4 separate regions of the Homo sapiens genome follow, and regions 2, 3 and 4 are each linked to region 1. The links are contacts of gene promoters, found by promoter capture Hi-C in blood cells and fetal thymus (Javierre and others, 2016). All regions are on one chromosome and are shown on one strand. The core of a region is centred on a gene start or on the middle of the fragment in contact, and the rest is flanking DNA. Distances in the headings are between cores, read along the strand shown. Region 1 holds the start of ZNF521 (zinc finger protein 521). Region 2 has its middle 110 kb from the start of LINC01894. Region 3 has its middle 260 kb from the start of SS18. Region 4 has its middle 95 kb from the start of LINC01894.

The links. Contacts are between HindIII fragments. The CHiCAGO score rates a contact against its expected background, and 5 or more counts as called.
Region 2: a contact is called between a fragment that was not itself captured here and the fragment with the promoter of ZNF521 in region 1, in 1 of 17 cell types (endothelial precursors). The highest score is 5.1, in endothelial precursors.
Region 3: a contact is called between a fragment that was not itself captured here and the fragment with the promoter of ZNF521 in region 1, in 1 of 17 cell types (endothelial precursors). The highest score is 5.5, in endothelial precursors.
Region 4: a contact is called between a fragment that was not itself captured here and the fragment with the promoter of ZNF521 in region 1, in 1 of 17 cell types (total B cells). The highest score is 5.6, in total B cells.

Annotation. Positions count from the first base shown.
Region 1 is chr18:25,348,555-25,354,431 of GRCh38, forward strand. ZNF521 (zinc finger protein 521) reads right to left here and starts at 3,612. Exons shown (of 8, transcript NM_015461.3): 1 at 3,451-3,612; 2 at 2,353-2,393. The coding sequence starts at 2,392. RefSeq lists a silencer at 3,638-3,707. The HindIII fragment of the contact is 3,815 bases long and covers 557-4,371 here.
Region 2 is chr18:24,871,215-24,877,091 of GRCh38, forward strand. No RefSeq gene overlaps it. Among named protein-coding and RNA genes, the nearest start is that of LINC01894, 110 kb to the right of the region's middle. The HindIII fragment of the contact is 3,400 bases long and covers 583-3,982 here.
Region 3 is chr18:25,825,040-25,830,916 of GRCh38, forward strand. No RefSeq gene overlaps it. Among named protein-coding and RNA genes, the nearest start is that of SS18, 260 kb to the right of the region's middle. RefSeq lists enhancers at 2,558-3,059, 3,060-3,559. The HindIII fragment of the contact is 500 bases long and covers 2,772-3,271 here.
Region 4 is chr18:24,889,607-24,895,483 of GRCh38, forward strand. No RefSeq gene overlaps it. Among named protein-coding and RNA genes, the nearest start is that of LINC01894, 95 kb to the right of the region's middle. The HindIII fragment of the contact is 3,137 bases long and covers 912-4,048 here.

The DNA of each region.
Region 1 (5,877 bases), core at 2,362-4,861:
CACCTGAGGCCATTCGCTCTTTTGGGAGTTGTCCAAGCAGCTGATAGGAGAGAACAGCACTGTGTTCCGCGCCCACACAGAATATGGAAGCTAAATCTTTGTTTTTAGTGTAAATATTTTATTTAGAATTTAGCAGTTGAAACAGATGCTGTCTTTGTGGGGAAGATATTTGGATAATTTTGCAACATGACGATAAAAGAATAAAATGTCCTCTTTACTCATTCTTCACTTGCCATTTTTTGCTTATTAACCTAAGAACTGCACAGGTATTTTGCAGTTCGACTTATCAAACCTGCCCAGCGAATACCGTCAACTGACGGATTCCCTTTACTGCCCATAAAATCCTACGTGCATGAGAAGAAATCATCTTCAGGAAGCACTGGGAACAAACGCATTCACAGTCAACCAAACTTTCGCTGTAAATTCACTCCAAAAGCAGGTGAACCAAATGCTCAGAAGCTGCGAGTGAACAAAACTGCCAATCGTGCAAACTTTAATAAACTTTTTTTTTTTTGAAAAGAAAAATCCCTCCCAAATTCCTTCACGGGGTTTCAGAAGCTTCTTGGAGCCCTTTCCACCGGACAGGCACTAACCGCTATCCTACTTCAACTCGGAAAGTTCTTCTTTCCAAGTGACTAGGAAGAGGTTTGTCCTGGTACTTCGCTCAGCGTTACTTTCAAGAAAGCCGGGGTCTCGGGCAAGTCTCGCCGGCGCGAGCCTGGTCCACCGTTACCCTGACACCCGCGCACGCCCGTGGCGTTTCTTTTTTCACTGTCGACACTTGGATCTTTCAGGCCCTGGGTCTAGGTTTCCCCCAGAAAAATGAGGGGCCCATGTGACGGAAACCACCAGACACACTGTGTGGAGACACATGCCAATGATTCACCTCGTTCCCGAACTAAAACTTCTGCGCTTTAGGAAAAAAGCAAGCGTTCCAATCTGCGAGGCCCTCCCCCACCCCGTCCCTTCCCAGGAGAAGAAAGAAAGGGCTTTGTGTGTGCGGTGAGGGCTCCGTTCATCGAGTTCAAAAATGCACAGCGGCCGGGGGCCGGGAGGCGTGGGGCGCCGGGCCCTGCCCACCCCTTTTCCCCGGGCCGGCGGCGAGTCGGGAAGCTGGTGCGGGAACCGGGGCCACGGGGCGCCGCGGCCCGGCAGCCAGGAGGAAGAGGATGCTGCGCCGCCGGGGACCAGAGGGCGGGGCCGGGCCGCGCGGACCTCGGCGGGACCCAGCGGGCCCGGGCGGGCGCACCAGCCGCCCTTTGTCCTCCGCCTCCGGGTCGCGGGGGCCGCGGCCGCCTCCAGCGCTGGCCCCCTGGCCCTCGCCCCGGTTCCCCGTCCTGCCCGCGCGCCCCTCCTCCGGCCCTCGCGCTCCGCCGCCCGCCCTCCCCGCTCTCCGCCTCGGAGCGCCGGACCTCGCGGCTCCCCTCGGCCGCCCGCCCCCGATTTCCTCGGAAGGAGGCTCGCGAAGGTGGAGGAGGCGGCCGAGGAGGAGGAGGAGGCCGCCACGTGACTCTCCTCGCCACATTCCAACACAGCCATCAGATCGATAACTTCAGGGACCCCCGCCCCCGCCGCAGCCAGCTAGTGCGCCCCCAAAATCCCGCACGCACGCCCCGCAACTTCCCTCTCCAACAGGGACGACGGAGAGCTGGACCCCACCGCGAAACGCAAAGGACTCCAGGGGCGGCGGGGAGAAGTAGGGGCGAGGGGCGGTCAACTTCTGGGAATGGCCAAGAGGGGTGCTCTGAGGCCCGAGCCGGGGTCCGGTGCCCGCGGCCGGCGGCCGGGGTCTGTTTACTCCGGCGACGTGCGGAGAGGACCCAAGCAGGACGCGGGCGGGCGGGAGGCGGCGGCCGGGACCCCGGGCCACGTTTGTCACGAGCGGGGGCTGCTCCCCACCTCCGAGATGACTTTTTTCTTCTTCCAAAGAAAAGGAAAAAAGAAGCACCGCACGGTTTTGCATATTTATTCTTTGCGAAAACACACAACAGAAACTTTTTCCTCCAGCCCAGATGTAGATCTCAGACGGGATATTTTTTTTTCCTCCCTCTCCGGATAATTTCGTTTCTTTCTCTCTCTCTCTCTTTTTTTTTTTCGGTTGTTGTTGTCTTTTCTCGCCCACTTTCTACCGCCGCCCCATTCGGGGATCCTCCTCCCGTCTTCGTCTCCCCCCACCCCGACACCTCACCCTCACTCCACCTAGGGGCTCAGCGGGGAGGGGAGCGCGCGCGCCCCCGCACTCACACTCACACTCACGCGCGCACACGCCTCGCAGCCACGCAGCCCTCGCTCCGCTACCCACAGTGACACTCGCGGATGGGGGAAAGCGGGGAGCAGGGGGTTCCTCCTTACCTTTGAGGGATCTCGGTTTCGCTTGCTTGCGGCGAGACATCCTAAAAGCAAACAGCTGAAGTTGTTTCAATTCAGCCCTGAAAGAAACTATACTTCCTCGTGGCCGCGCGCCCCTCGGGCCGCGGCGCCTCGCGCCCTCCGCTCGGCCTCCCTCGCGCCCTCGCTCCGCGCTCCGCTCCTCGCTCCGGCTCCGGCTCGCGCTCGCGCGCGGGGCTCGCGGCTGCCCGAGCTCCGCGCTCTGCACGACGGCGGCGGCGGCGGCGGCGGCTGCTGCACCAAACTTTCCCAGCCTTCGACCCCCACCCCCAATCTCCAAGAAAAAAAAAAAAAAAGGAAAAAGAAAAAAGGAAAGGAGGGAAAAAAAGCTAAAAAAAAAACCCCAAAGACAATGTTTGAAGAGCCGTCAGCTACACTAAAAAGAGAAAATCCGTTACTATTTCCACCTCAATCAAAATTCACATAGTTCATGCGAATAGAAAAAAACTAATAAAAAGAAAAGCGTCTGGGTGATTTTTTTTTTCTTTACCGCTTTTCCTTTTCAACAAATCCGCCCCCCCCCCCACCGGAAAAAAACAAATAACACTGATTTGTTTACAAAGCGAGTCGTGCTCTTTTGTAGTTGGGGGGACGAGGGGGGGAAATCGACCCTGCAAGGCGATGAAAAGGTCTTGGAAAGAAAAATCTCCCACCATCCGAGGCAGATGCGAACGGGCCACGAAAATAAGCAAAGGGAAAAAAATACTTTTTTTCTCCCTTCCCCCCACCCTTTTTTTCTTAACCCACACTAAAGTAATTTCTTTCAAAAAGAAAAAGCCAAAGCACCCGAGCCGACGGCCCCCAGGTGGTGTGCGGGGCTGCTTGTGTGCAGGGGGTGTGCGGGGCCCGGGCTCGGGGCGCCCCTCTCTGGGCGGGGGCGCGGCGCCGGCGGCTGGCGCTGGACCGGGGCTCTAAAGTCTACGGCTGCCTCGGCAGCGGCGGCGGCAGCAGCGGCGGCAGCGGCGGCGGCAGCGGCGGCGAGAGCAGGAGGAGGAGGAGGAGGAGAGCCGGGAGCAGGAGGAGGAGAAGGAGTGTGCTGTGTGCTCCCTCCTCATCACAAACCTGCAAGGTCTTGGACTGCGCTGTCGCTCCGGTAGTCCACATAATAATGGAAAATGGAAGCAAGGCCCCCAAAGCCATCAGGATGGCTCCAGAGGGGGCCCCTAACCCGCAGGGACTCGCTCTGTACGTAATCACTGAGGAAATCATTGTCAGCCTGCCTGCACTCACACACAGACAGAGGGGCATGATTAAAAGGCGAGAGCGCGGGGAGCGGGAGGGAGGAGGGGGCCCGCCAAGACCCGGACTGGAGGCGCCGGCCGCGGCGCGCGGATCCGGAGCCAGGCGGCGGCCGAGCGCCCCGAGCCCCGCCCGCCGCCGCCGCCGCCGCCGCCGCCTCCCACGCGCCGCGCGCCCCGCCCGCTCCTGCGCCGCCGCCCCTCGCGCCGCCCGCCCGGCCGCTCGCACACCCCGCGCCGCCGCCGTCGCCGCCGCCGCAGCTGCGTTATTAGAGCTCCACGGCGGATCTCGGGGCTCTTCTGCTCGCTTTTTTTCCTCTTCAGAAATTAAAGCAGAGGAGCATCTGAAAGTGGAAAGGTCCCCCTTCTGGTAGGATGGATGTAAAAGGAGGCAACAATTTGTTCTTGAGGGGGCAAAAAAAAAAAAAAAAAAAAAGAAAAAGAAAAAGAAAAAGAAAGGAGGGGGGAAATTCATTGCTTGGCTTTTGCATTGTCGGACTTTAAAAAAGTGTGTCTGCTGTTGTTGCCCGGACTCGGGAAATCTTTTTTATGGCAACCGCAGACCTGCCAAGTCTCTCTTACTTGGAATCTTTATAAAGGCAAGTTATTTGGACTTTTTTTTTATTTTCTCGTTTAGAGAAAGTCATTGATGCTGACGAATGTCATAATGTGATTCAAAAGAGACAGCTTTGAGTTCACTTTTTTAACATTCTCAAATTGACATAGATCTTTGTCCAGAAAATAAAGCTTTCTGTTGATTTTTTCTTTAAGCAAGAGGTAAGGAAATATGCACTTAAGAATATGTGTACAAGAAAATAGTTTCTAAAATAAATTGAAATGTCTGCAGGTCGGTGGGAATTTTTGTTTCTTTTCGCAGTTTTGTTTTCTAACTTTTCACCTGCTCCCATCGCAAAACAAGAAACCATCACCTGTTTCCTTCTTTTACCTTATCTTAAGGGAAAGGATGTTTTAGTATTATTATTGTTGTTGCTATTTATTGATTGGACACGCTTGTCAAGTTATAAATGCCTGAGAGGGCTACCAAGTAGAGCTTAGATTCACAAGTCTTGGTGGAAATTAAGAGATTCAGAATACGGTTAATTACACAAAACAGGCAGAATTTTGTACAAATACTATTGTTCTTAATCAGATTTTAAAAATTCTCCGTTCTGTAAAATTAAGGTACAGCTATCTATTAAGCCACCATGCAAAGACATCAAAGCTTTAAGGAAGTTGTATTTTTTCCAGTCTAACCTGTAAACTGCCTGGACCCTCATGTGGATAGCTGCAAATACAGTATGTTTTTTTTCAATATCTTCATTATAATTAAATGAGTTTTCAATCCATCTGCAGTAATTCCTAAAGTGAAATCATAGTTGTAGTCAAATTTAACTTTGCATGACTGTGAAATAAAGCAACTTTTGTTGCAGAATCTGTGTTGGTACATTAAGGATTCTAGATTTTATACATAACCTTATACATTCATTTTCACAGAAATCATTCAGAAAGGGAAAAATGTGTAAACACCAAGTTTTTACAAGACTTTCCTTTCGTGTGGTAGCCATATGTGTGCAGAATACTATGGTGCCATGTATGTGTGGTCCCAAGTTATGTGTGATATTATCTAAAATATTGATGGCATCTAATCCTGGTTTTATTGGAAAGTGAAAAATTGCTAACGTAATACTAACGCGTACCCTAATTTGTTAAAGTTTTCTATATGGGTTGATTTTTTTTGTTTCTTTCTCAAAGTAGTCTACTTTGCTTTACTCTAAAATTGTTCTTTCATTTCCCAATGTTAGTATTTCTGTTGCCTTCCTCTATTAAGAGATAAATAAAACCCTTAGCTCAGAGATTTAGATCTGGCTCAAGAGCCTGATATTTCAGTTTGGGATAGTACTGCATAGCATTTTAAGGGAGGTTAAAGCACCAACCACCCAAAAGACAAACATAAAAACTATTTTAACCTAAATCTGTCAAATATTGACCTATACAGATAGGTAAAATGCTTTTGAAACGTATCTTTAAATACTTTAATTTCCTCCCCCCAAGTTACCAAGGGGGGGAAGATCATTGATTATGTTTCTAAACATAAACCCCAACATCCACCCATGAAGCCAAAGCCATCATCTCTGAGCAGAATGCAGCAACTTTGTGAATATTTGGATGCTGTTGTTGATGATGGGGTAATAATGCATAAAGAACCATGTGCAAGGAATTTTACTAAAGACAAGACAAATATTTTCTTAGG
Region 2 (5,877 bases), core at 1,033-3,532, 480 kb before region 1:
TACCAAACAAGGGGCTTTGGGAACACAGAGGACGTAGTAAGAAATTCTGCTATGTGGTGGGTGAGGGATACAAAGAGAGAGGGGAACATATTGGTAAAGAATGTATACAATTCTGTCTTTTAAAACTTAATGCTATTTATATTTCTAAATATATGAAATTTCAAAACCAATACCTGTGGAATTGAAACCTTCAGTATAGTCTGCCACATGTGCCAGCATATCTGTCATAATGCCACCAAAAGTGATTATAGGTTACAGTGAAGATTAAAATAAGATAGAACCGCATTGAAAAGTCATTTTGACAAAACTCTACTTCTCTCTTCATATTGGTTGGTTGTTCAATCAAAATGAGCAGTTATTTTGGTGTTAAATGAAGAAAGATATTTGCAACTGAGAAAATTACCTGGTATCACATGCTTGTTATAATATTAACTAACTTCTCACCACCTCTCAGAAAATTTAATTAGCATTGACATGAATTGACAAGCTCTCGCCCTAAATCTGCTTCCATTAAAAAATAATTACATTTATTAGTGTTATTGAACACATAGTTTATCCAATACAATCCTTCTGACTTCCTGAAGCTTGTCGGGTACCTGAGCTACTGCAATGGCATGCCTACTCAGCTATCCGTTTCCAAATGTTTCCCATTGTAACCATTCACTACACTGCCTTTGGGGTATGCTTTCCTTCCAAAAGACGGATCCATTCATATCACCTCCTTGCTTCAGAACCTTCTGTGATTCCTGATGTCTAATAGAATAAAGCCTAGATGTGTTATCCTGGCATTCAAGACAATTCATGTTTTGATATCAACCTAACTTTCCTGTCTCAAGTTCTGCCAATCTCAGTGATGCACTCCTGTCACCACTAACTACTTACTGTCCTTTGAGCCCTTTACTGTTCTTGCCCCTCTAGCCACCCATGCTTGTTGACTTGCTTCTTTATGGGAAAGCCCTCTTGTCTCATTTTCTGCTGCTATGTGACCTTACACTTTAAGACCCAGCTAAATTGTTACATTTGGGACATTTTTTCTGACCCTCCCTCTCAAAAGTTAATTGGATATGACCTTAACATGGTGCACATATTTCTGTAGAAGCTCATGTACATATCTCTCTCGAAGCAGGTATTCCTTCTTTGTGTTGCAGTTATGCATTTGTGGACATCTCTCTCTCTCCTTAATTAGAATCACCTTATACATCTCAAGAATAGGGACAATGTTATTCATTTTTATATACTCAGAGCCTATCAGGTTCCTCAGGTTTTCTTCTATAAATAAACATTATATAGTCCAGCATCATTATCCTTACGTCACAAAAGAGGGATCCATGCTCAGAGAGGTTAGCGAACTTGGCTGAGGTCATACAAGTCCTGAACCCTTGGCCACACTTCACAGTGTCAACTGTTCACCATCATGTCTACAGATTTAAGGTTTTCTAGGAGTGCTCCTTTATCATCTGATTGACTTTTTTTCACATAGTACACAATTGTAGGCATTCTGTTAGTTTGTTAGGGCCACCATAACAAAGCACCATAGACAGGATGACTTAATTAAAAGGTATTTATTTCCTCACAGTTCTGGAGGCTGGAAGTCCAAGATCAAAGTGTCCGAAGGTTATTTTTTTTTTCTGAGGCCTCTCTCCTTGGCTTATAGATGTAGATGGTCATTTTCTCCCTGTTTCCCCACATGGTCTTCCTCTTGTGTGTGTCTATGTCCTAATCTCTTCTTTTTATAAGGACACCAGTCACACTGTATTTAGGTCCACCTTAACAACCTCATTTTAACTTAATTATCTCCTTAAAGACTCTGTCTCCAAATACAGTCACATTCTGAGGTACTGGAGATTCAAACTTCAACAGATAAATTTTGGGGGCACGCAATTCAGCCCATAACAGATACCTCATTTATGCCAGGCATCACGGTAAATGCTAAACTGAGCAATCTTTGAGGCTGACCCTACCGATGTTCATAAAGTTGGTAACAAATCACGTACTATCATTTTCATTGACCCTTAAGTATTTATGGTAGGGGAGGGGGCACAATAGAAACTGCAGATACAGTTTTCTTGGAAATTAATTAACTGGAAAAATGATTTTTTCATCTCATTTTCCCTTTGGCACTGTCAGAATCTCCAACCACCCTGGAGTCCTTTGCTCCAGAGAGAGGTCAGAGAAGGTGCCCTGTTCTAATTGTCAGAAACCCCATATTAGAATGTCTTGACTGACAACGCCACAAGTATGCTTACCACCTCAGTATTTATGATTTTCCTTGTAATTCTTGCTCTGACTGCAAATGGTTAATATTGTAAAATCACCAAAGTAAGGGAAACTGCTAAAATTTACAGAGCAAATTAGGAGTGCAGCATGAATTGGAAATCTCTTTCCCTAAGTGCCTGAGTTCTTTCCTTAATGCTGTGAATCATGGAATAAAGGACTTTAGGTAAAAGGCTGGAAAGTTTTCTCTTCCTATAGTCAAAGGGGCCAAGATTTCTCATGCCTTCTGAAGGCAACATATCCTGTAAATGATGACAATACTGGTCACAGCCTTAATGCCCACATAAAAGAGCAATTGTGAGAGAGTCACCTTCCTCCAGTCGTCTCTTTAAGTCCCTTGCGTGTCTCGATCACTTTTAAATCACCACACTCTTTCTTCTCTGCGGCAACGGTGAACCCAGAAGGCCCAAACATCTAAAACATCTTCTCCCCAGGGCTTCTTCTAACTCAATAAGAAAGTTTAAAACTCCTGACAAAGTCTCCTGTCTTTTTCTCCCTTCATGTTCCCTCCAGCGTCTTCCGTTTCTATTTCCCTCTGTGATGTGAAGTATTACAGATTCAGAAATACAATGTTTTGTGAATACTGGAGAACTCAAAGACCAAAGAGGCAATGAGCAAACACACAACACACTATCTGAGACAATAAAGCACTAGACAAGGTTTAGAGGTGTGACCTTGCACAGCTGGGCTCAGGGTGCAAAAATCAGGCATAGGAAAGTTTTACCAGGGGGATCCAGGCATAAATAAGTGTCTTAGTCTATTTTGTGCTGATATTACAGAATACCTGAGAGTGGGTAATGTATAATGAACAGAAATTTATTTCGCTCATGGTTCTGGTGGCTGGAAAGTCCTAGATTGAGGGATTGCATCTGGTGGGGGCCTTCTTGATGCATCATAACATGGTGGAAAGCATCACATGGGCAAGAGAGAGGGGTCCAAACTTGCTTTTATAACACACCTACTCTTACAATAAGGAAGGCAGAGCCCTCAAGACCAAATTCCGTTTTAAAGGTTTTACCTTGCAACATTGTTGCATTGAGGATTAAGTTTCCAGCACAGAACTTTGAGGAGTACATACAAACCATAGCAATAAGTAAGACCTATAGTGTTTTAGAAATGTCCAGCCAATACCTGCATGCTTTACGACTGTCTCCATAGCTTTATTTTCCTTGGACTTTTTCATATACTTACAACTTATATGGAAACCTTCCGTTGCTTAATAAATGTCTCTACTTTATAAAACACTGTATTTCTGAGCCAGCTTTGTCATTTTTAGTTGTTTCGAGAAGTCCTTGACTATCCTTTCCTTTATTCTGCTTTCTCTATTAGTGGGACTACATTTCTTCCCTTCTTGTGGGAATGTCATAATTAGTTACTGGGCCTTCTAGTATCAGGTTAAGAGAAGATAGGGGGAGGGGATAACAATAGAGTTGGTAAACCCAGTGAGGGCTACTGGCAGGAGACTAACCTTCACAGAGTGAGATATATGTGTTTGCTTGTGGATTTTACTATTGAGTTGGTGCAAAAGTAATCAATGGTTTTTGCCATTGAAAGTAATGGCAGAAACCACAATTTTTTTGCACCAACCTAATATTTTGAAAAGTAATCTGGGACTACCAATATGAAACAAGTTTTGTATGAAGGAAACCACAACCCAGTGTTCAGAATCCTCCTAATTTCTTTATCTCCCTTCTTTTCCTGCGTACGAAGCTTTCCACCTCCCTCCACTCAGCTTGAGAAATGTCTGAAGTGGGAATAACTGGAAAGGACCACCTGTGGGAATTTAAAGGATCCAAGAGAAGGCTTAAGCCTTGTCTACTGCCATGTAGGTCAGAGGCAGGAGCAGCTTCAGGAAAGGGCATGGGGATAAGGGGGCAACAGGAGAAACAAAGGGACTGTCTTTGTTGTGCTTTCCTGCCTGGAACGTGTCCACATAGGAATTTCCAGAGAGTCTGGGCCCAGGGCTCCTGCCTGGTACAAAGCGATAGGCTGGCTTGACCAGAGGGAGAACCGCCCACATTTTTACATTTCCTTCCCTGCTCTTCCTCTCCTATCTGGTATGGTATAAATGGAAATCTTGAGTCATAAACTTCTTGTGTCTTCTCTGTAGTTCTGATCCCAGCTGGCTGCAAACCAGATGTTTGATCTTAAATAGGTAGTTTTTACCTCTCAGGGCTCCAGTTTCCTCATTTGTGAAATTGAGCTAACAATACTTACTTTGCAGGTTTGTCGTGAGGATTAAATTGAAAAGCCACAGGAAAGAACCTAAAAGCTTGTCTGGTATGCAGTAGGCACTCACTGTGTGTCTATTGTTGAGGGCAGAGATGGTTTTCCTCTCAATCCCTCCAGGCCACAGCATGTCAGACAGTTCCCTGTACAAAGCAGGTGCTGGACAAATGTTAAATAAAGTAGGTCATAAAGCTGTGCCTTTGAGGAACCATGGAGCTCCACATGTGGGTTTCTCTGTTCCCTGATGCTCTCTCTGCCCGACCCCACACACACCCTTCCCTCAGGCCACTGGGGAACAACAACTTTGAACTTAGCTGTGGTTTCATTACTCTATGCTTCTTCTATGAAGCTATGCTGAAATGCACATCTCCTTCTTTACTCAGTTCCACACACACCCTTTTAAATTCAGCTTGAATGTCCCTTCTTCTGGGAAGCTTTCCCTGACTCCTGCCACCCATTCAGGGTGTCCCTTTTCTGTGCTGCCACAGCACAAATGACACTTCACTGTCCTGGTCAAGGGAATTGTCTTTTTGCCCCATCGGCCCAAGGGCACTCCTTGTGCTCTGCTGAATGAACATCCCCAGGGCTAGAGCCAGGGCCGAAAACAGAGAGAGAACCTTAAAAAGGACCTTTCGTGACCAAATGCAGGGCCAAACGAATGAACGTGACAATGTGGCTCTTTAATAGTGATGGAGTTTGAGTCATAAGCTGAATCACATTTCAGCAGATTGGGCCATCAACACAGCCCAGTGGCCCTGGAGGACAAGAAGTCTGTGGCCACAGGAAGGTGGAGAAGTTTCTGAAAATGCATTCCTCCTCTCCTCACAAACACACACTATGCCAGAGTTATGCAGAAAAAGGAAATGTTCAACATGTTGCAAATGGAAGAAACTAGAGGAAACGATGTTCTCCATTCCACCCAATACTACCTCCCTTAGTACTATTTGTGGGAATAATGGATGTGGCACTGTCAGAGCCAGATGGATGCGTCCCTAAAGGACGTGCAAGCTTGGCTGTGGGTCCGCAAATCCCTCACTGTTGAGAACTACCCAGGGCATACGTTGCTTTGAGGAATCACTGCAAATGGAATGTTATGGACTATTACGATAATCAATTAATAATCAATTAGTTTAGTAATCTTCTCTTGTAGAAAACCTGCTTAAACAATGATGAATCATGCAAACTCACTCAGGGCTGAAAGATGATAGAGTGGAGGAAAAAGTAGCTTTGCGGTTTACACACACACACACACACACACACACACACACACACACACAAAGAAAGAAAGAAAGAAGGAAAGAAAAAAAAAACTTAGAAAACAAATCCCCAAGCTTGACTGTCTCTGGAAAATGAATTCCACAGGCACTGACTCCA
Region 3 (5,877 bases), core at 1,772-4,271, 480 kb after region 1:
TACACGTCAGCAACCTTGGAAACTTCTCCTGGCTATAACCTCTTTATTTTGCTTCGAACTCCTAACTTGGTACTCATTTGCTGAGCTCTTACCCTGGATAGCTCACATTGTTTCATGTGGTTTTCCAAGGAGGACACTAAAAGCTTCTCTGAGAATGCAGGCAGGCAAAAGAAAAGTTATTTGAATGGGCTCTGCAGTGTAGCAATCTGTCACAGCAAAGGGGTGAGTCTTGCCGGAATGCATTTCTGCTACTCAAGACACAAACAAGGGAGAGATCACAGAAGGATACACGGAAGTGCCTGTCGGGGAGCTGAAGCGAGTGGCTTCAGGGAGACAAGACAGAAGACCAAAGGGCTCTCCCAGGACACAGGAAAGCAAAACTTTGAGCAATTTAGTATCAAGACTCCGGGATACAACTGCAGCAAATAGGCTTTGTGTGTTTGTGTGAGAGAGAGTGTGTGTGTGCGCACGTGTGTGTGCTCACCCATGCATGTGATACTCAAAATTACAACTCCTTCGGAGCAAAGATATGACACTAAAAGCAGTGAGAAGCAAACAATAGCTACGGCTATAAATTAAGGAGTTCCTATTTCTGTACTAATCACATAGATTTGTTTTTGCAGACAGCCTGCCTATCAAAGATAGGGATTCTCTGAGTAACATGTTTGCAACAGTCTAGTAAATTTTTCTATTTGAATGTCTCTTCATCACCTAAAGAGTGACAAATCCAAAACCGAACACATCATTGTCTGCTCACAAATATTTTCTCCTCCCAGCCATTCTTCCTGCCTGAGATAGTGACACCCTCTTTTTCTCCATCACTCAGGCTTGAGAACTTGGAGTCATTCTTACCTCATCCTTCACCTTCAACTAGTCATCCCCCTCCAATCCTTTTTGGAAGTAGGTAAAACGTAAATCACATACAAATAAAAACAGTATTTAATCAGCATATAGTCTATGTAAACCTCTCCATCTTTGTTCCCACTTTCACCCCTGGTCAAGGATCTTATCCCAGAAGTATTTATCTGAAGTATTTCCTCAGGAGGCCCCTCCACCCACTGCCTGTCATTTCAGTCCAAACCTTCCATATCTCACTAGCTGGTGAACACAAACACAGCCACATTATCATCCCGTGAGCAAATAGTGTTTCCGAGGGCCTTTTAGGTTTGTCTGAGGTTCAAAGGCAGGAAGTCGAAGTCTCCCAAAGCCCCCCTTCCTCACTTTCTGAGGCCTTGGCTGGCTTAAATATGCCCACACATGGCCCCCAGCCTTCACTCCTGGCCCTACACAGCCCAGGGGCCTGGCAGCTCCTTCCTCTCAAGAGTGAACTACAAAAGCCTGGGTGCAACACCTAGAGGTCCAGAGACTCTGTGAACACAGGGAGGCAGATCTGGCAGAACCTCCTTCCTCCGTGGGTTTCTTCCATGTGGGAGTCCTGAGGCCCTCATCCTTAGCCTGGCTGGCATGTCTAGTTTCCTCTCACTGCCTTTCCTTTCCAAGAGGTGGCAAAGCAGGACTGAGAGCTGACCAGCTGTCCTCTGCAGCTCAGAGACAAAATGAAGTGTGAAACCAAACAAAACCACACTCATCCACAGCAGAGCAAGAGCAACTCAGGCTTGTGTTGTCTGTGTCCATGCAGCAAGCCCAGACTTTTGCTCCCAGCCCTAACAGAGAGAAAAGGAAAGAAGTGGGGGTGGGAGGGGGTGGGATCAGCAGTGCCCAGATGCACAGTTCTGTCTACACACAAAAAATCATATTCCCAAATGAAGCTTTACCTCTTCATTTGTTTCTTCTTGCAACAAGTGTTTTTTGAGCACCTACTATGTGCCAAGCATGGGACAGACTGACAGAAGCCTGCTGGAGCAGAAGCTCTGGTGTGGAAAATAGACAGTTTTTAAAAATCAAGAAAAATAAGCAAGGTTGTTTCAGGTAGTGATGAGTCAGAGAGGAAATGAAGCAAGGTGCTGGGATGGAGAGCGCAGGGCCTGCTTAGGTAAGGCAGTCCTGAAGGCCCGTCTCAGTGGTGACATTGGGGCTGAGCATCAGCTGAACGGAGAAGAGGCTGCCCAGACTGTGCTCCAAGTCAGTGGCAAGCTGACAGTTTTCCCCAATAAAATTGGGTGGACACATAGCCTCGCATTTGTATTAGTTTGCTAGGGACGCCATAACAAAGTAATACTAATAGTTGCTTAAAAGACACAAATGTGTTTTCGCCCAGTTTTGGAGGCCAGAAATCCAAAATCAAGGTGTCAGTAGGGCCCTGCTCTCTCTGAAGACACTGGGGAAGGATCTGCTCTCGCCTCTCTTCCAGCTCTGACAGTTTCTTGGCTTAGAACAACATAACTCCAGTGTCCACATGGCATTCTCCCTGTGTGCATGTCTGTGTCCCAATTTCCCCCGTTTATAAGGACACCAGTCATATTGGATTAGGGGCCACCCTGTTGTAGTATGACTCACCTGAACTAACTGTATCTGCAACAACTCGATTTCCAAATAAGGTCACATTCTGCAGTACAGGGGAGGGAGAAGTGTGGATTTCAACAAATAAATCTCAGGGGATGCAATTCAACCCCTAACAACATTTCTGTAATAAAGGGGTCCATCCAGGATGGGTGGAGGACCAGCTTTACCCACAATGATCCAACCTGCTCGTTCAGAGAAGGCTGAGCTTTCCACTCTGTCTCCCCCACATCACAGAGCACAGCACATAATAAATGAATGAATACTTGTTGATGGTTGATTAATGATACATTTTACTCTAAAATTTAAAAAGCTTGTGTTATCATGTTGAGATAGTTTGGGATTTGTTTGTGTGCCAGCAACAGTTCCCGTGCTTAGTAGCTAGGAAAGGTTTAAATCATTTTTGGGTCTGATATGATTAGTTAACTGTTCCCAGAGACCATGTGGAAAAAAATAGCTGGCATCCAACGCTGACCCAGCCCCCTTTGTCTCCCTCCTGGGTCCCAGAGGCAGCAGAGCTGATGAGCTCAGACGAGGTTGGCAGAGGTCACATTTGTTGAAGATCCGCGAAGAGATACCGGTGAAAGTGCGGCAGCAGAATGCAGCCATCCAGGCCTCCAGGCAGCTCAGCCCCCTCGCCCAGCCTGGGGACACACAGCTGCCCGCTCCAACCTCAGAGGGGCAAATTCCCCGACATCAGAGAAGCCGCCCTGGGCCACTAAACGGAAACCTGGCTAGCGAGGAAGCAGCTGGTCTTGGCAAACAAAAAATAATGCCCCAGGCAAAAACAAAGTAAAAGGGAGCCTGGAAAAGCTTCATTCTGAGGAGCCACTCCCTCCCTAACCCAATTTTTAAATCCAATATAAAATTCTAAGGCTATTCAGAAAACACCGTGGCAAATTCCTTCAGTCTAAATTCTCTGTGATGAGAAATTCCTAGAAGGCTTTTCCTTTCCTTTCAAAACACTGGACAATTTTCTCCAACAGTATATCTCACATTGTGGCCAGCCATCTTGTTATCTGTTACTCTTTTTGAATGTAACACAGAGAACCACAAGATCTTGTGGAATTTCATTTCTGTGTTACATAGCATTGCATTTTGAAGTAGTGTTTATTGTTTTCCTTTTATTTTTATCTCATGAAATAAACTATTCATGACAAGCTACTTTTCATTGTTAAAATTATATTTATGTATGCACATATAAATATAGCAATCTCTTATGAAATATATGTTTAATTGATTTATTAGTTTCCCACTGTGCTTAAGAACTCATGAACCTGAAATTAGCTGTGCATAATGGTTCTTCTGATAAGAACAGCGACTCTGCAGATACAAATGAAACAAAGCAAGGTGAAATTTTCAGAGAAAGATCTAGTCAAGCTGTTTAGAGGTCTAAAGCACACATTTTGTCATTCTTACTGATGACAATAATAATAGCTGAAATTGATTATTGAGTACATACTATGTGATAGGCAGTGTGCTATGCCTTTTGTACCTACCTTAATTTAAATCCTTTCAACTCCATTGACAATGATTGCTTAGAATCACTATGTGATTTAACCATCATCACAGCTAGTAATTGGGAAGAGTTGGGATTCAGACCCTAGCTCATCTAACTCTAAACCCCAGGCTTAGTTCAATATACTACATGGATTAAAATAGGGACAAACACCATTAAAACATTAATCAAAGCTTGAAAGCTATAGGCAAATATCACTGGTATATTCTTTTAGAAAGTTGATTTATAACAATAACGCTGTAAAAAAAAGATAGGCAAATTCCAAAGGGTAAACTGAGGCATGTGGCTTTTTAGAACTTACTTTGAAATACAACTGTGGATATATGAAATATCATTTTCACTCTTTTGAAGGTAAGTTCTGGAAGCACTGGAGACTTATAATGATAAAAATTACATGATAACCTTTTATGCAACAGGCTTATTGAACACAACATTAGGTGAGTGATGCTATTCTAACAAGAACTAGTCATGCTGGGCTAAATTTTCCAAGAATGCAATTTAAGCCCACAGTAAGGTGTATTATAAAATGAATGGGATACCGTGGTTCAAACACAGCCCTCCGAATGGTCCATCTGTGGACCTTATCTCACCAATTCTCATTAAACAGTGATTTCATTTCTCTCCATCATCACAAGCTCCACTCCTGGGCAGTGTTCAGCTGCCTGGCTGGTCTCACGACACATGCAAATATGAATTAAAGGCGACCGCACCACAAGACTGAGGAGAGTTCAGTAATACCCTTCCCAGTGTGAAGCACAGGGCCCCAGCCATCACAGATGGGAAAAAGAAATTGGTGGTCCCAGCAGGCCCTCTTTTTATTACCCCCTGAGGCCTCATTTGGAGCATGACTGTCACACACATGCACATGCGCACACACACACACGCACATATACACATGTACATACACATATCTAAACCACTCTACCTCCTCTTTCCATCCCAAGCACCTGTAAGGTTAAAGATGTGTTTGGACTCTACAAAAATAAAATCCCAAACCTTTACAGATACCTTGTCACAGACTCTCACTGCTCCTCGGTGATACTTGTAAAAGGAGTTATGTTTTCCTTATTATCTATATGGGGAAAGTGGAGTGTGAAATGTAAACATCTGTTTAGAGCTAGAAGGAGAGTCAAAGCCAGAATACGGGAGTGGAATTCTTCTGTCCTCTGACCTCCTACAACATGGAGTTTTTGTAACTTTCCTACAGCCCTCATTCTTTATCACAACATGATAAAGTTTCTTGTACATTCGTCTTTTCTCCCTTATGGTACAATAAGCCCTTCAGGGTGGAGAACTATTTCTGGTTCTCACCATATCTAGCAAGGTGCTCTCCAAGATTAACTGTGCAAACTCCACATACGTTTATGGATTGTAACAAGAGGGCAAACAAGATACTAACAGTTCTTGTTAGCTGGATGGAGTGGGGGAGCACTGGCAATTGTGGCAATGGTTGAGCATTAATGGGTTTCCTTTACGATATACACATTTTCCACCAAATCTTCTCACTGCTGGTCACCATGAACGGAAGACAGAAAGCACATGAGTGAAAGAGAGAAAATATACACCATGGTGATTTCTAAAGCAGCTAGTGAAGGCTGAAGTAAGGGTGAGTGTGCAAGATAGCCATTGGAAGTACTCACCCATTCAGTTCTGGGTGCCCTGTAGCCCTACCAACCAATTACAAAATATATATATTTTATATATATATTTTTTAATATATTATATATTTTATATATATTATATATTTTATATTTTATATATTTTTATATATATTATATATATATTCAGCTTGAAGGAAATCTCCTGCAAGTCACGTGTCTACTGGCTGAGATTAGTCTGACTGTGGCCCAGACAGAGGTCCAAACCAGTCCTGAACTACACAAGGCACAGCCTAGGGC
Region 4 (5,877 bases), core at 1,230-3,729, 460 kb before region 1:
GTGACATCTAGGTTTCTAGCTTGTACGTCTAGATAGATGGGGGCCGTTTACTGAGAGAAGAAATCTTTGGAGAATACCGTATTTGGGAGGAAAGATGATGAGTTTGGTTTTGGACCTGTTGAGTCTGATATCAGGCTTTTTAGACACAGAAGAAAAGATCCAGTAGGTAGTTCAATTTATGGGTCTTGAGAGGAAAAAGGTGATCTGGGCTGGATAAGTTATGTATACACGGTCAGTGAATAAGTTACGTATACATGGCGATTAAAACAGTACGTTTGGATGAGCTTATCTGGAAAAGTTTACATAAACTAGAGTCAAAGACCAAGACCTACAAAATTCCAACATTTAATGATGAGACAGTGAAGAATCTGCCTGAAAAGGAGAATAACAACTAGAAATGACAGAGATAAGAAGAAAATCAGGAGAATACCACATAAACCAGGGGGGAATGCTTAAGGAAGGGTGATGTGCTTAACTGTGGAACATCGCCAAGACAGGGAAGAAGTGAGCTGAAAAATGTTCATGGAATTCAGTCACTGAGACCTTAACAAGAGCCATTTTCCTAAAGACGTGGGACAGACCTCTGGCTGGAGACAGCTGGGTACTGAGTGGTACTCGAAGGACACAGTAAGCATAAGAAAATTCTTCTAGAAAGTTTTCTGTGAAGGGAAGGAAGACAGAGGCAGGGCTGAAGTTGGCAAGTATTTTTAAATGTGACTTAAGATGATTTAACAAGTTCAATGGGAAAGGTTTGCTTGAGAAAGAGAGTCTGCATATATGAAAGTAAAAGAATCATTGATAGTGTAAGGTTTCTATGAAGATGTGAGGGAATGAAGGGTAAAGTGCAGGACAAAGAATTGACTTTAGGTAAGAGGATGAACAGCTCCTCTATCATAAAAAGAGAGAAGCAAAGCTTACTTGTAGATTTGTAGATCAGAAGCCAGTGCATTCTTATTGGACGGCCTCTGCTCTCTGTGAAGTGGGTGAGGTCATATGCCGAAAGTGAAGGGTGAGCAGGGAGTGGGGATGAGAGAGCATAGAGATGACTTGTACAGCCATAGAAAGTAAGAGATTGAGTTGACCAAATCATGTGTATGGATTGTTGGACAGGACTGATGGCCCATTTGAGTTGGGTGATCTTGAACTTAGGGTGAAATAGTAATAATTCCTCGAACAATTAAGCATAGCTTTTTTTGTTTGTTTTGTTTTGTTTGAGACGGAGTCTCATTCTGTCGCCAGGCTGGAGTGCAGTGGTGTGATCTGGGCTCACGCACACTGTAACCTCCACCTCCCGGGTTCAAGTGATTCTCCAGCCTCAGTCTCCCAAATAGCTGGGACTGCAGGCATGCGCCACCACACCCGGCTAATTTTTGTATTTTTTGTAGACACATGATTTCACCATTTTGGCCAGGCTAGTCTCAAACTCCTGACCTCAAGTGATCCTCCCGCCTCAGCCTCCCAAAATGCTGGGATTACAGGCATGAGTCACTGCTCCCAGACAAGCATAGCTACTTTTTAAATGTATGTCTAAAAACTCTATTGCCTACAGGTTTGTTTATATTGCCTTTAAGATAAAATCTTGGTTGTTGGTCAAGTCTTGTCTCCTCATATGCCTAGTATTTTTGGTTGTGTGTCCAGTTGTTTTTTATTTTAACAATGAACATTTATTATCTCACAGTTTCTGTTAGGAGCAGAGTTGAAGTGCAGTTTAGCTGGATGGTTCTTGTTAGGCTCTCCCTTGGGCTTGGACTCCGGTATCAGCCCGAATTTCACCACCTGAAGGCTTGACTGAAGCTGCAGGAGTTAGTTCACTCCTCTGGCCATTGGTAGAAGGCCAAGGCCTCAGTTTCTCCGTACATGGATTCTCCATAGGGCTTGCAATTTCTCTGACATGCAGCTGACTTCCCCAGTATGCGTGATGTAACAGAGCAAGAGAGAAGTGAGCGCTCAGTTACTTTTGATTAAATGTTTGCCATTGCTACTGGCAGGTGCTGGGTTGAGGGGCTAGCAAGTCCCAGGAATTGAGAGATAAGAAACTTTGGTCCCTGTGAGGGCTCCTATATTTCCAGTTCACTTTTCCTTCTTTGGTGTGGTCTTGGGGTCCCAACTAATATCCTGGGGTGTTTTCCAGGACACCTCCTTCTCGACAGAGCTTGAACCCCTATTTCAGACTCCCCAGAGCCTCAAGACTATCAAAATCCCTGCCCAGCTTCTCAGGGTCTCAGCTGTGCCTTCAGAATTTCAGGTGCCTGTAGCTTGCTGATCTCAAACCTTAGGGTCATCACAATCCACTCAAGGGTTTGTTAAAGCATAGCTTGCTGGGTCTCGCCCAGAGGTTCTGATTCAGTAGATCTGGGGTGGAACCTGAGGCTCTGCATTTCTAACAAGTTCCCAGGTGCTGCTGCCTGCTTTGTGTCCACTTTCTGAGAACTACTGTCCCGGGGAAAAAGCAGTCTTAAGTGGGCTTCCCTCTTCTCTGGGATCTTGGCAGTGTGATTTCTCACTGCCTTGGTGACTTTCTAATGTCCTCAACCCAGTGTTTCTTTTCATATATTATCGTGTGGTCAGAGAGAGTTGATTTGAACCACCTACTTTGCTGTTGCCAGAAGAAAAACTTCCAAACTAATAATGATAGCTAATACTTAGTGAGAAGGTATTCCATGTCAGACTGTGGCTGGTGTGGCTGGCATGGCTGTTGAGTTGCATAACTCCAGGGGGCATTATTCAGACTGTGTTCATTTATTTATTTTTGAGACGGGGTCTCACTCCAACACCCAGGCTGGAGCACAGTGGTGTGATCATGGCTCACTGCAGCCTCAATCTCTTGGCCTCAAGCGATCCTCTTACCTCTAGCCTCCTGAGTAGCTGGTACTACAGGCACAGGCCACCACACTGGCTAATTTATTTATTTATTTATTTTTTTTTTTGTAGAGATGGGGTTTCATAATGTTGCTCAAACTCCTGGGCTCAATTGATCCACCTGCTTTAGCCTCCCAAAGTACTGGGATTACAGGCGTGAGCCACCCTGCCCAGTCAACTTTGTGTGTGGTATGAATGTGCAGCTGCCTGGAGTTGTGTGGAGCAGTAGCCCTGTGGAGCTGGGCACTGTGTAGTGATCTTTATATGTGTTGTCTCATTCACTCTTACAAAATTCCTATTGATATGATTGTCCTTATTTATAGATGAGGAAATAGAAACAACGCATAACTTTCCTAAGGTGACAGGGTTTGTACATGACAGCACTTAGAGGTAAACCAGGTTTGTCTCATTACTAGGACTCTCTTGATTTGTGGAAACAAAGTTTGCATTAAGCCTTTGACCTTCCCAGATTCCCTATCTGTAAAATGGGCACAATAGTATTTATTCTCAACCTCATAGTCTGGGTAGAATGACTTAACAAAGCAGTGGACTTAAACTCTTGAGAGTTTTTTGGGATAAGATAATTAGCTTGCATTATCACAGTTCTGTTCAGGAAAGTGGTTTTCTTACGAAGGTATAAACACCCCCAGTTGTTAAGCAAGCAAATGAAGACAATCAATGGAGCAGAGCTAAGGCCAAGGCAGGTGTTTCAAATAGCACTGCAGAGTGACAGTAAGTGGCATCCACCTTTCCAATGGTACCATGCTTTAAAAAGCAACAGCTTTAAAAAGTAACAGCTTCATCTATTGAGTCGTGTAAGACCAAGTTTCTCCTCTACTAGTTTTTCTCTTTCCCTTAAGGAAATCAGGTATTCATGTCTTCTTTCATTTACTCTCTTCCCTCAGTGACTAACTACAAAAGTGTTAATTTAAAAAGTTAGGATTTTGAGGGCTTCTAGACCCTTTAGGCATTAATATTGCAACCTAAAACTGTTTACCTAGAGGTCACAGGTTCAAGTCCAGGCTGGGTCAGTAGTGACCGAAAGTCTAATGACTGGTCATCTGTTGGCTATTTTATGGTTTATGTGAAATGAAGCGATGGTCTCAGCTCACTGGCCAGTCCACATCAGAACAGGCATTGCCAGACATTGGTTGGCATTTTCAGCACAGAGGCCAAGAATTCAACTGGAAGCTTTATCCCTGAGGTTGCCTTCTGTAGAACATAGGCATGGGGCAAGGGAGGAAGGTCACAGTCAATTGGGAAAGAAGAGAGCCATTGTCTTATCTTTCTACCTTCTTGACAAAAAGAAGATACCTCTTTTCAGACCCATGAAAGAAGTTGACTTCCTGATTTGTCATTCACTTTTGCAATTTCACTCAGCAGAAGAGAAAAGACGATTTCCAGCAGTAAACGATGCAGGCAGTGTCATGCAGAGGAAACCACTGTTGTTTTCTGGGCTAAAGAGAGCCAGACCGGAGAACAGACAGGAAGGGGAGCAGGACAGAGGAGAATGGGCATGATTATATGTAAAGGTAGAGGCCTCTGTTTCTTCTTCGTACACATAAGCAATCATGTGAGCCTGGAAGACCCAGAGAAGCAAGTGGTAGAATGGCCTGTGCTTTCTCTTTTGCCTATTTCCCTCCCAGCTTGTTCCATGCTCCCTGCAGAAAGGCAGGATCTCAGACCCACTTCTCTTGTTATCTCTCATGGGGTCAGTGTCAAGGACAGACGTGAACACTGTCAATGCCCCAACTACTACCCACCACTGAGGTGTGTCTAGGCATCTCTGGATCTAGGCATTTCCCGACTTGTTTTGACTCAGGAAACAGACAAAATCATTTTATTTTTTCCCTAAAAGGGGGAAGTTGAATTTTAAGAATTTTTTTTTCAGTTGCTCCCATTGTCCTTATTACTAAAGTCCTTGCCTGAATCCAAGGGCCTTCCCTGACTTTTGTCTGAGGCTTGAATCTTTATGACACTGTCAATAGAATGGAATATGGTGAGATGCAAATTGCAGTGGATCAAGATGTGAATGAAGTTGAGAAGGTTGAAGCAAAGAGTATGGACTCTTCTTTCCTGAAATCTGGTGGTGGTGAAAGAGACAGATAGAGCCTGGGCAGGGAGTTTGCAGGGAACTTTGTTAGAATGAAGAAGGAATTTTGCATGCATCTGTAGTCTGAGAAGATGAAGATCTTCTCAGATGAAGCAGGTGAAGAGAGGGAGAAGGAAAATGCACAGGGAGAAAGGGGGCAATAATTTCTAGACAAATGCCAGAGAAGGAACAAAAGGAAAGGAGGAACTGTGTAGAAGAAGGAGATGGTCCTGAAGAAGAGACGATGAGGAGGGAAGAAAGGGTTCTGTTATGGATGCATTTCAGGCATGGAGTGGCAAGTCACTGGGCTCTTCATCAATAATGAGCTCTATTTTGTTTGTGAGGTGGAAGGCAAGGCTCTTCATTGAGAGGTGGCTGGGAGCCTGAGGAATGTGCTAAAGATTTGTGGGAAAAGGGAAAGGAAGCCACGAGGGAACAGAAGTGAAGGGCTGCTGGCAGGGCTGGGCTCAGATGGATTTACATCCTCTATCTGTATATTAGTGTTATCTTTAAAAGTCGTCTGCCATATCCTGGCTTTCAGTCATGCAGAGGATCACTGCTTTATATTACACAAGGAGGCTTGGCATGAGGAGAAAAAACAGACTGCAAAATGTCACCCAATCTAAACATGGAATGGGGAGAAAACCACAACAAATGGGGCTGTCAAAAAAGTTTTCAAAGAACTTTACAAAAAAAAACCTTTTCTTTTATTTAAGTCAAAACAGCAAGGAAAATAATATTCTGGTGTTCAAGCTCTATTCTCTCTGTTGGGGGTGACGCTTGAAGAAAAAGAAAAGTGTATTCTGCGGTTAGTGATATTTTAATTGGTCACAATATGAAGTAAAAGTTCAAAACTAAATACTAGAAATATGTCCCCTCTGGAACATTCAATTAAAATCTGTGGGGGGAAAAAGCCTCAAAATGAC